Linked DNA regions of Homo sapiens: region 2 is linked to region 1. Evidence: promoter capture Hi-C in 16 types of primary human blood cells and fetal thymus (Javierre and others, 2016). All regions are on one chromosome and are shown on one strand. The core of a region is centred on a gene start or on the middle of the fragment in contact, and the rest is flanking DNA. Distances in the headings are between cores, read along the strand shown. Region 1 holds the start of CLEC2L (C-type lectin domain family 2 member L). Region 2 overlaps TBXAS1 (thromboxane A synthase 1).

Region 1 (4,113 bases), core at 461-2,960:
GTGCACGTCCCCTGGCCCATAGCCTTTGTGCAGAAGGCTGGCATTACCATCCCCACCTCGCCATCCTCAGCAGCCCCATGACCTGCCTTGGCCCAGCTGCTGGTTATGTCCCTCCTGGTCCACTGCCCCACCCCCTCCCTGACCTCGAGCCTGGGTCCCACCCCTCTGGGCCACCACCAGTCTTCCAAGGGCAAGCCCACCATCTCCACCCCTCAGTAGCCCCTTCAGAACAAAGTCCAAGCTCCTGGGCAAGGCCTGGCTGGCCCTTCACCGTCTGGGTCCTTCAGGCCCGTCTCTCTCCACCCTGCCCCATCTCAGTACTCCAGGGCTCAGTTCCCACGTGGCACAGAGTAGCTCTGACCACCTGGCCTGGGATACGTCATGCTCTGGGTCTGGAACACCTTCCCCTCTGTCTCCACGCCTGCTAAGAGGTCACCTACTCCTGGGAAGCCCTCCTTTTCTGACACTGCCTCCCTAAGGATGGGTGATCCAGGCTCCAGGCTTCCCTAGTTAATGCTGCCCAGGTCCTCCTTGTCCTTGGATTCAGGGTGCCAGGAGCACCCTGAGAAGCACCCAAAGGGCCAGCCACCCTCTCACCAACTCCTGCATCTCCCACACCACACGCCGCCGGCGGTAGCTAATACAAGTTTCCTTAAAGAGCTCATGAACTTGAAATCAATTCTCTACTTGGGTTACTGCCCCGGAGGCAGGCCAGGGGTCCCTCCCTGAGGCAGTCTGATGGAGGAGTAGGTGTGACCCCTGACCTTGCAAGGAAGAGCCTCTCCTGGATTCTCCACCCCTGCCCTGCCCTGCCCTCCCCACATGCCCCACCACCACGGGGTCCCCGCGGCTCTCACAGGGGCGGGCACCACCTCTGGGGTCTCCAGCTTTCTTACTTTACTCGAAGCGTGTTCACGACCACAGATTCCGCCACCCTCTCAACACGCCTGTCTGGTGGGTGTCAGGCAGTGTTTGTCCCCTTCATGCGTGAGGAGACGAAGGCTCAGAGCGTGAAGCCCGCTCCAAGGTCAGAGAGGGAGTCGCAGCAGAGGCGGGGTCGAGGCTGTGACTCGCGGTGGCCCCCGGTTCCCTCCCACCCCACCCCACGAACCGGCGTCTGGCCGCCCTGAAATGAATGACTCCGCCGCGTCCCGGCGCCGCGCTCCCAGCGCTCCCCTCCGGGACAGCGGCCAAGGTGACTCTGACCGCCTCCGGGTCGCGGGTCGGGCCTGGGCAGGGGTCCCTGGGCCAGGAGAGGGAGGCCGCTCCGCGCTTACCCTCCAAGGCCGCCTTCCAGCTGGTGCTGCCCTCGTAGCCCGACCCGGATCGCCGCAGCAGCCCCTCGGGGCCGCGGGCCTCAGCCTCTGCGGGCGAACGCGGCCTGGGGGCGGCGGGGGCGGGCGCGGGGCGCGCGGCGAGGGGCGGCGGCGGCCGGGCCCGCGAGGGGGGCTCCCGGGCCGGCTCCATGCGGGGCGCTCCGCCGCGCCGCGCCCGCGCTCCTGCACCGGGGTGCGGGGCCCAGCCCGACGCGCACTCGGCGCTCCGCGCGCCCTGCGGGCCCCCCAGGCCGGCCTCGGGTGGGCTAGGACCGCGGCGCTGGCAGGCCGGGGCTGAGCCCGGCTCCCCGCGCTGGAGCCTCTGCGCCGGGTGCCGCCGCGGTGCGCTCAGCGCCTGCCCCGCCGAGCCGCAGCCTCCACGCACAGCCGGGCTGGGGAGGAGCGCGAGGCGGCGCGCGGGAGCCGGGAGCCGTGGACCCGGGCGGGGCGGGGCAGGGGCGGAGAGGGAGGAGGCGCGGAGGAGCGGGGACAGCCGGCTCCCCGACCCCGCCACCTGGGCTGGAGGCTGGATGCTGTCGAGCTGGGAGCGCAGTCTTGGAGCCGGGAGACCTGGTTCTAACTCAGCTCCATCTCCCCAGCCGCCTGCTCACCATCTGTGAAAATGGGAATAAAGTTCGCGGGGACAGTGCAGGGAGGCTCAGGGAAGATGAGCGCCTTTCTTCCCGGCTGCCCTGGAGCCACAGCAGAGGGTGGTAGGGGCTGTGACTTGACCCCCAAACTCTTGATAAAGGAGAGAAACGTCCGAACGATGAGCACAGAGACAGTAGAGTCTAAAGGAGCAAGCGAAGTGACGTTGCAGATTCAATTAACATTTATTGAGCACCTACTAAGCGCCAGGGACTTTCACATATTATTAGCTGACAATGCCCCCAGGTGAGGCTGAGAAGTGGAATTTTGAGGTCAAGGACATTTCCGAAGGCGGCGCCAGGCAGGTGCGTGCTTGGCGGGTGTCTGACTCCCAGGCCAGGGCTCCCTCCGGAGCCTTCACTGGCCCCTTGCCTCAGCTGACCTCGCGTCGCCTGAAGCCCCACGCCTCCAGCCCTGATCCTCTTCCCCCTCCACCATTCTCAGCCCCAACCTCTGGTTCCTGTCTCCATCTTCAGTTCCTCATCCCCAGCTCCTCCTGCTCCCTCCCCCAAATCCAATAGGCCACTGACTCTTGTGAATTCTCCCTTTTAAAATATTTTTATTTTTATTTTTTGAGACAGGGTCTCGTTCTGTAGCCCAGGCTGGAGTGCAGTGTCACTACAGCCTCGGCCTCCCAGGCTCAAGCGATCCTCCCACCTGGGTCTCCCAAAGTTCTAGGATTGCAGGCGTGAGCTGCCGTGCCCGGCCCCTTTTTTTTTTTTTTTTTTTTTTTGAGACGGAGTCTCGCTCTGTCGCCCAGGCTGGAGTGCAGTGGCGGGATCTCGGCTCACTGCAAGCTCCGCCTCCCGGGTTCACGCCATTCTCCTGCCTCAGCCTCCCAAGTAGCTGGGACTACAGGCGCCCGCCACTACGCCCGGCTAATTTTTTTGTATTTTTAGTAGAGACGGGGTTTCACCGTTTTAGCCGGGATGGTCTCGATCTCCTGACCTCGTGATCCGCCCGCCTCGGCCTCCCAAAGTGCTGGGATTACAGGCGTGAGCCACCGCGCCCGGCCGCCCGGCCCCTTTTAAACTCTTAGTCTGCGCATTGCACTCCATCCCTCTAGCCACTGGCCAAGTACAAGCCAATGCCTTCTCTTGCCCGACCACAGCAGCAGCCTTCTAAGGGGTCTCCCATCCTCCACTCTTGCTCCCTCCTATCCAGCCCCTCCCCCTCCACACCCGCAGCATCTACCTAAAGTGCAAACTCACCACTCCTTCAGGGGTCCCTTTACCTGTGGATTAAGGCCATCTTTTTACAAGGCCTCAAGGTCCCTCATGGTCAAAGTCCTGCTCCTACCTAAGGCATCCTCTCCTCCCACCCCTTCTCTGCCAGCCCTAGACACACCTAACTATTCTGACTCTTTCCTCTGGGCCTTTGAACACTGTCTTCCTTCTGCCTGGAACACATCTCCTCCTTGGTCCTTCTAACCCCTCCTTGTAGCCCCCATGCACCCTAGTTTGCCTACCAAATTTCTGCTAATGCTTCTGATTGCACAGTCTCTAGGATACTGCATTCATTCAGAGTAGGTTCAACAAGACTACAACAGAAAACCCCAGTAAGAGTTTAACTAGAAAGAAGGTTTTTGTTTTTTGTTTTTTGGTTTTTTGTGTTTTTTTTACCTGAAAGAAGTCTAGAGGTGATCAGCCCAGGGCTGGATTGAGAGCTCCAAGATCATCAGGGACCCTAGCTCTTCCTCTCATTCTGCTCCCATCATCCTTAGTATATAGCCTACATCTTCAGGATTCCCTCATGGTCACACTATAGCCACTGTGGTTCCAGCCATCACACCTGCACACCAGATTACAGAAAGAGGAAGAACCAAGGGGAAAAGGGCATGCCTCTTGTTGAATCAGACTCCTTTAAAGAGTTTTTCTGGAACCCCCAGTGATTTCCACTTACCTTCCACTGGACACTTCTTTCTCAAGTAAGTTTGTGGAGTATAGTGGCAATTAGCTAAAGCCATTGCCACGCTCAATAATGCAGAGATTCTGTTAGGAAGAAGGGGGGAATGGAATATGTGCATGACCAGCAATCCCTGCCTCCTAAGCCTCCTGTGATCCCAGACTGTGGCACCTGTCCTTTGGGCCTTTGGAACACTCTCCACCTCTCTTCCCATAGCACTTGCCACATCCTACTGTCATTGTTT
Region 2 (4,113 bases), core at 1,092-3,591, 480 kb before region 1:
TGTTTATAACGGGTCAGTGGAGAATCGGCCACCGCATTTTCATGTTGAAGAGCCTAACCCCTTTGTTATTCAACATGACAGCTAATAAGGTCTTGTCTGATGGATTCGTGGCTGAGTTTAGGTCCAGGAAGTACTGTGTCCATTGATCAGTTTCTGTGCTGTCCTCTTGCTGGAGAACACACCTGTTTGGCTTGGCTGCTCTCCCTCTTGGCCAGGAGCCCTGGTCACCAAGCCACAGCTGGACCCCAGCTACCAGCCAGCTCTGGGGCCCTGTAAGGCCTTCTTTCCTTTAAATGGCCTTTGTTCTATTTGATCCCTGAATGCTTTATCTTGAACTTCATTTTAACATGTACACCAGCTTCCCACAATCCCCTTGGAAGAAAGCTGGATATCAATTATGAAAAAAATAAGGCTGGGATTGGTGGCTCACGCCTGTAATCCCAGCACTTTGGGAGGCCAAGGCAGGCAGATCACCTGAGGTCAGGAGTTTGAGACCAGCCTGGCCAACGTGGTGAAACCCCGTCTCTACTAAAAATACAAAAAATTAGCCGGGCATAGTGGCGGGCACCTGTAATCCCAGTTACTTGGGAGGCTGAGACAGGAGGATCTCTTGAACCCAAGAGGCAGAAGTTTCAGTGAGCCAAGATCACACCATTGCCCTCCAGCCTGGGCAACAGAGCAAGACTCCATCTCAAAAAAAAAAAAAAAAAAGAATAAAAGAAAGAATTGGATGACAGTTTGCAAGAGGCTCCAAAGGAGATCAGGGAAGGGCTGCACATCAGGTCTTAATGCTGGCATGGGGAGAGGGGGCACAGAGCCCCTGAGTGACTGGCCTGCTTCCACACTGAGACCCAAAACCTTGTGTGCTTGAGGACAATGCAGTTCGAATCACGCCACCGGAATTTTCTGTATTTGCTTCTGGACTTGAACATTTGGACAATGTCTACAATTGCATTCTTTGTAATGCTTTTGTGTTGAAATATCGTTTTGAGATACCCTCAAATCATCCACATATTGTCTTTAAAAATGGTGAAAGGTATTTCCATATGGTTTATGTGATCTGTTAATTCATAAAAGTGTTGAGTGGAATTTATCACATACGGTTAATGCTTTGTGCTGCTTCTGTTTCTAGAGCCTGAAATCTGGCTGTTACTTCACTCTCTGTAGGGGTCTGGGGACATGAATTAAGATGCCCTTCTCTATGGAGTGCCTTGTTTGGGAGAGTTTGAACGAAGCACAATAGTTGGTTTTGCTCTCAAGATACCCACAGGTTGGTGTGACCGGCTGGTTGGTGTGTACATTAGTGAAATGTCATGGAGTGGCAGATATGTGTCCAAGAATATAACATGAAGTGTATAGTTACAGCTCAAAGTGCTGAGGAGGAAGGGCAGGGAGGACCAGGTGAGGCAAGCCCAACACAGACGTCTTGAGGGGCAGTGAGACGTTTTGGAGGGTGAGTCGTGTTGGAGCTCCAGGATGGGACAGCTGGGGGTGTTGGATGGCAGGAAGGAGCTCCCAGGACTCAGACAGTCCCCTACTGTCTGAATGCCAGCTCCAAGATCAGTCAGGGACTTTTATCTGTTTTATATACAGCTGATTTCCCAATGCTTGGCACAGAGTAGATGCTCAATAAACAATTGCTGAATGAATGAATGAACGAATGAATGAATGAATGAACGAACAGGCAGGGGAAATGGCAAAAGCCAGCAAAGGCTAGGAGACCAAAGGGCCAGCTTGGGCTGGGGAGGAAGGCGGTGTTAAGAAAATGCCTGTGAAGCTTTGAGAAGGTTGTTAACCTGTAGGAAAGCGGGCCAGATATCTGAGGTGCCATGGGGATACAAAGGAACCCAGGACTCAGGCGTTGCCCTCCAGAAACACAAGTGGTAACTGATGGAGGAGGGCCCTGACCTGCAGGCTGGGGCAGGGGGTAGGGGTAGGAGGTGGGGACTCGGGCAGGGGAGGGGGCTACCACACACCTGAAAGCTGGCGGGTACATCCTCAGCGTCTCTGCAATCACCATGTCCAGATAGGGCAGGCCTTCCTCGAGGCTGCAGAACTCAGGGGCCATCTGATGGAGGGGTCGTGACAAAGGGAGAAGTTCGTGTTAGCCCAAATCTCACAGCATTTTGTCTTTTCCTTAAATTTCAATCTCGTTTCCAACTTTGGCAAACATTTAAACAGAAACCCCACAAAATGGAAAGTCGGTATGACCCAAATTGCATCTGATTGGCGCTCAGTGGTTCTATTGTGCTTATATTTCACGGTGCTAGCCTGGGGCTCAGGGGTCTTCGTAATACAGAGAAGTTTGGTTATAAAACTGCAGCGGCAACCACAGCCGCCAGCATTTATTGGGAGCTGACGATGTGGCCGACCAAGTGCAGCATAGACGTTACCGCATTTGATGCTCCACTAAGCCAGTGTGGTGACTGTTTCCCCATCTCTTAGATGAGAAAACTGAGGCTCAAAGAGCCTGTCACATGGGTAGTCATGGCACATTATGAAGTCAAAAGGCAAATAGTGAAATAGCAAATAAAAAAGTTTGCCACATCTATAAAGGACTAACAGTAACAAAAACCAAAGAGCTACTATCAGTCAGTAGGAAAAGACAACTAGCTAGAAAAATGGTCAAAGGCTATGAACAGGCGAAACACAGAGGCCATATGAGTTACTATAATGAAAAATGCAAGTTCCAATGAGATTCCATTTGCACAGGTCAGATTAGGAACAGCTGGAAAATGCTGATTAGATTTCAGGGGGTGCAAATGTGGGGATCCTAACACCCCCGGGTGACTCTCCTGGAGTGACAGTCTGTCACTCCCTGGCTCCCCATCTTTGGCCTGAAGATGAACACGTGCCCATGAGCTCTTGAGCAGGGTGTGGGCGCACTGGGATTAAGGAAGCTTATTTGCTGCTCTGCCAGTTTGCCCACAGAGGTGGAATGAGTTATCTGGTTGGTAGGTGATGGTCTCACTTTCTTCACCTAGATAATGCTAATCCAGGAGGAGTCCCCAAGGTGGCGGATTGCTTTCTTCTGTTCCCTCTTTTTCCCAGAGCAGCAGGAGGCCGGCCTTCAGGGCAAGTCCATTCTCAAGCCGCCAACGTTCCAGTTACAGGCGCTGGGAGGCCTAGTTCCTCCGTCTGCAGGGGGAGCCCTTCACAGCCCTGGAGCAGCCACTGGCCACCCTGCCTGGGATCTCAGCCAGCTCTCAAAGTGAGCTCCGGGATGGGCAAGGGTCAGCAGCAGCAGCATCACCCGGGAACCTGTTAGAACTGCATCTCGGGTCAGAGGGGTGGAAGGGCAGGGGCCAGGACACATGGAGTCTTGAAGTCCATAGCCAGTATCGTAGCTAATCTATGATGACATAGCCATTCAACATATTGCAGCTGTTTAATGATGCCTATAAGCCACGTTGCAGAAATTATATGTAGTTTAATCCCATGTCTGTGACTGTTTATGAATTTAGAGGGCCAGGGTGGCATTCCTACTTTGTCATAAAAAATAACAAGGTTTGGATGGTTTTCCCAAAGCTCTCCCGTCTGCATTTCTGGGAACGGTTCTAACTTTAGAAGGTTATCACCCAACCCCACACTTCCCACTCCCATCACAGGCCACTGGGGCAGCTGGCTGAGCAAGTGACCAATGAAAAGGGCTCTGTGCGGGGGTTAATCCTCTGTGGCGCTGTCTTGAGAGTCTTCATAACTTTATCTTTTATTTATTTATTTTTTTTTTGAGACAGAGTCTTTTTCTGTCGCCCAAGCTGGAGTGCAGTGGTGTGATCTCGGCTCACTGCATCCTCCACCTCCCGGGTTCAAGTGATTCTCCTGCTTCAGCCTCTCAAATAGCTGGGATTACAGGCATCTGCCACCATGCCTGGCTAACTTTTGTATTTTTAGTAGAGATGGGGTTTCACCATGTTGGCCAGGTTGGTCTCCAACTTCTGACCTCAAGTGATCCGCCTGCCTCGGCCTTCCAAAGTGCTGGAGTTACAGGCGTGAGCCACTGCACCCGGACGTAACTTTATCTTTGAATCTGTGCTTTGGAAGCCTGGCTTATGCATGGCTCCACCTGTGGCTGCCTCCCACGACCAGCTCTCAGCTGCCTGTGCTCTCCAC

The links. Contacts are between HindIII fragments. The CHiCAGO score rates a contact against its expected background, and 5 or more counts as called.
Region 2: a fragment that was not itself captured here is called in contact with the fragment with the promoter of CLEC2L in region 1 in 5 of 17 cell types (endothelial precursors, naive CD4 T cells, naive B cells and 2 more); the score reaches 7.5 in endothelial precursors.

The regions. Positions count from the first base shown.
Region 1 is chr7:139,521,282-139,525,394 of GRCh38, reverse strand. CLEC2L (C-type lectin domain family 2 member L) reads right to left here and starts at 1,710. Exons shown (of 5, transcript NM_001080511.4): 1 at 1,278-1,710. The coding sequence starts at 1,467. The HindIII fragment of the contact is 20,495 bases long and covers 1-4,113 here.
Region 2 is chr7:140,005,046-140,009,158 of GRCh38, reverse strand. TBXAS1 (thromboxane A synthase 1) reads right to left here. Exons shown (of 13, transcript NM_001061.7): 10 at 1,977-2,068. Among named protein-coding and RNA genes, the nearest start is that of PARP12, 56 kb to the left of the region's middle. The HindIII fragment of the contact is 1,123 bases long and covers 1,780-2,902 here.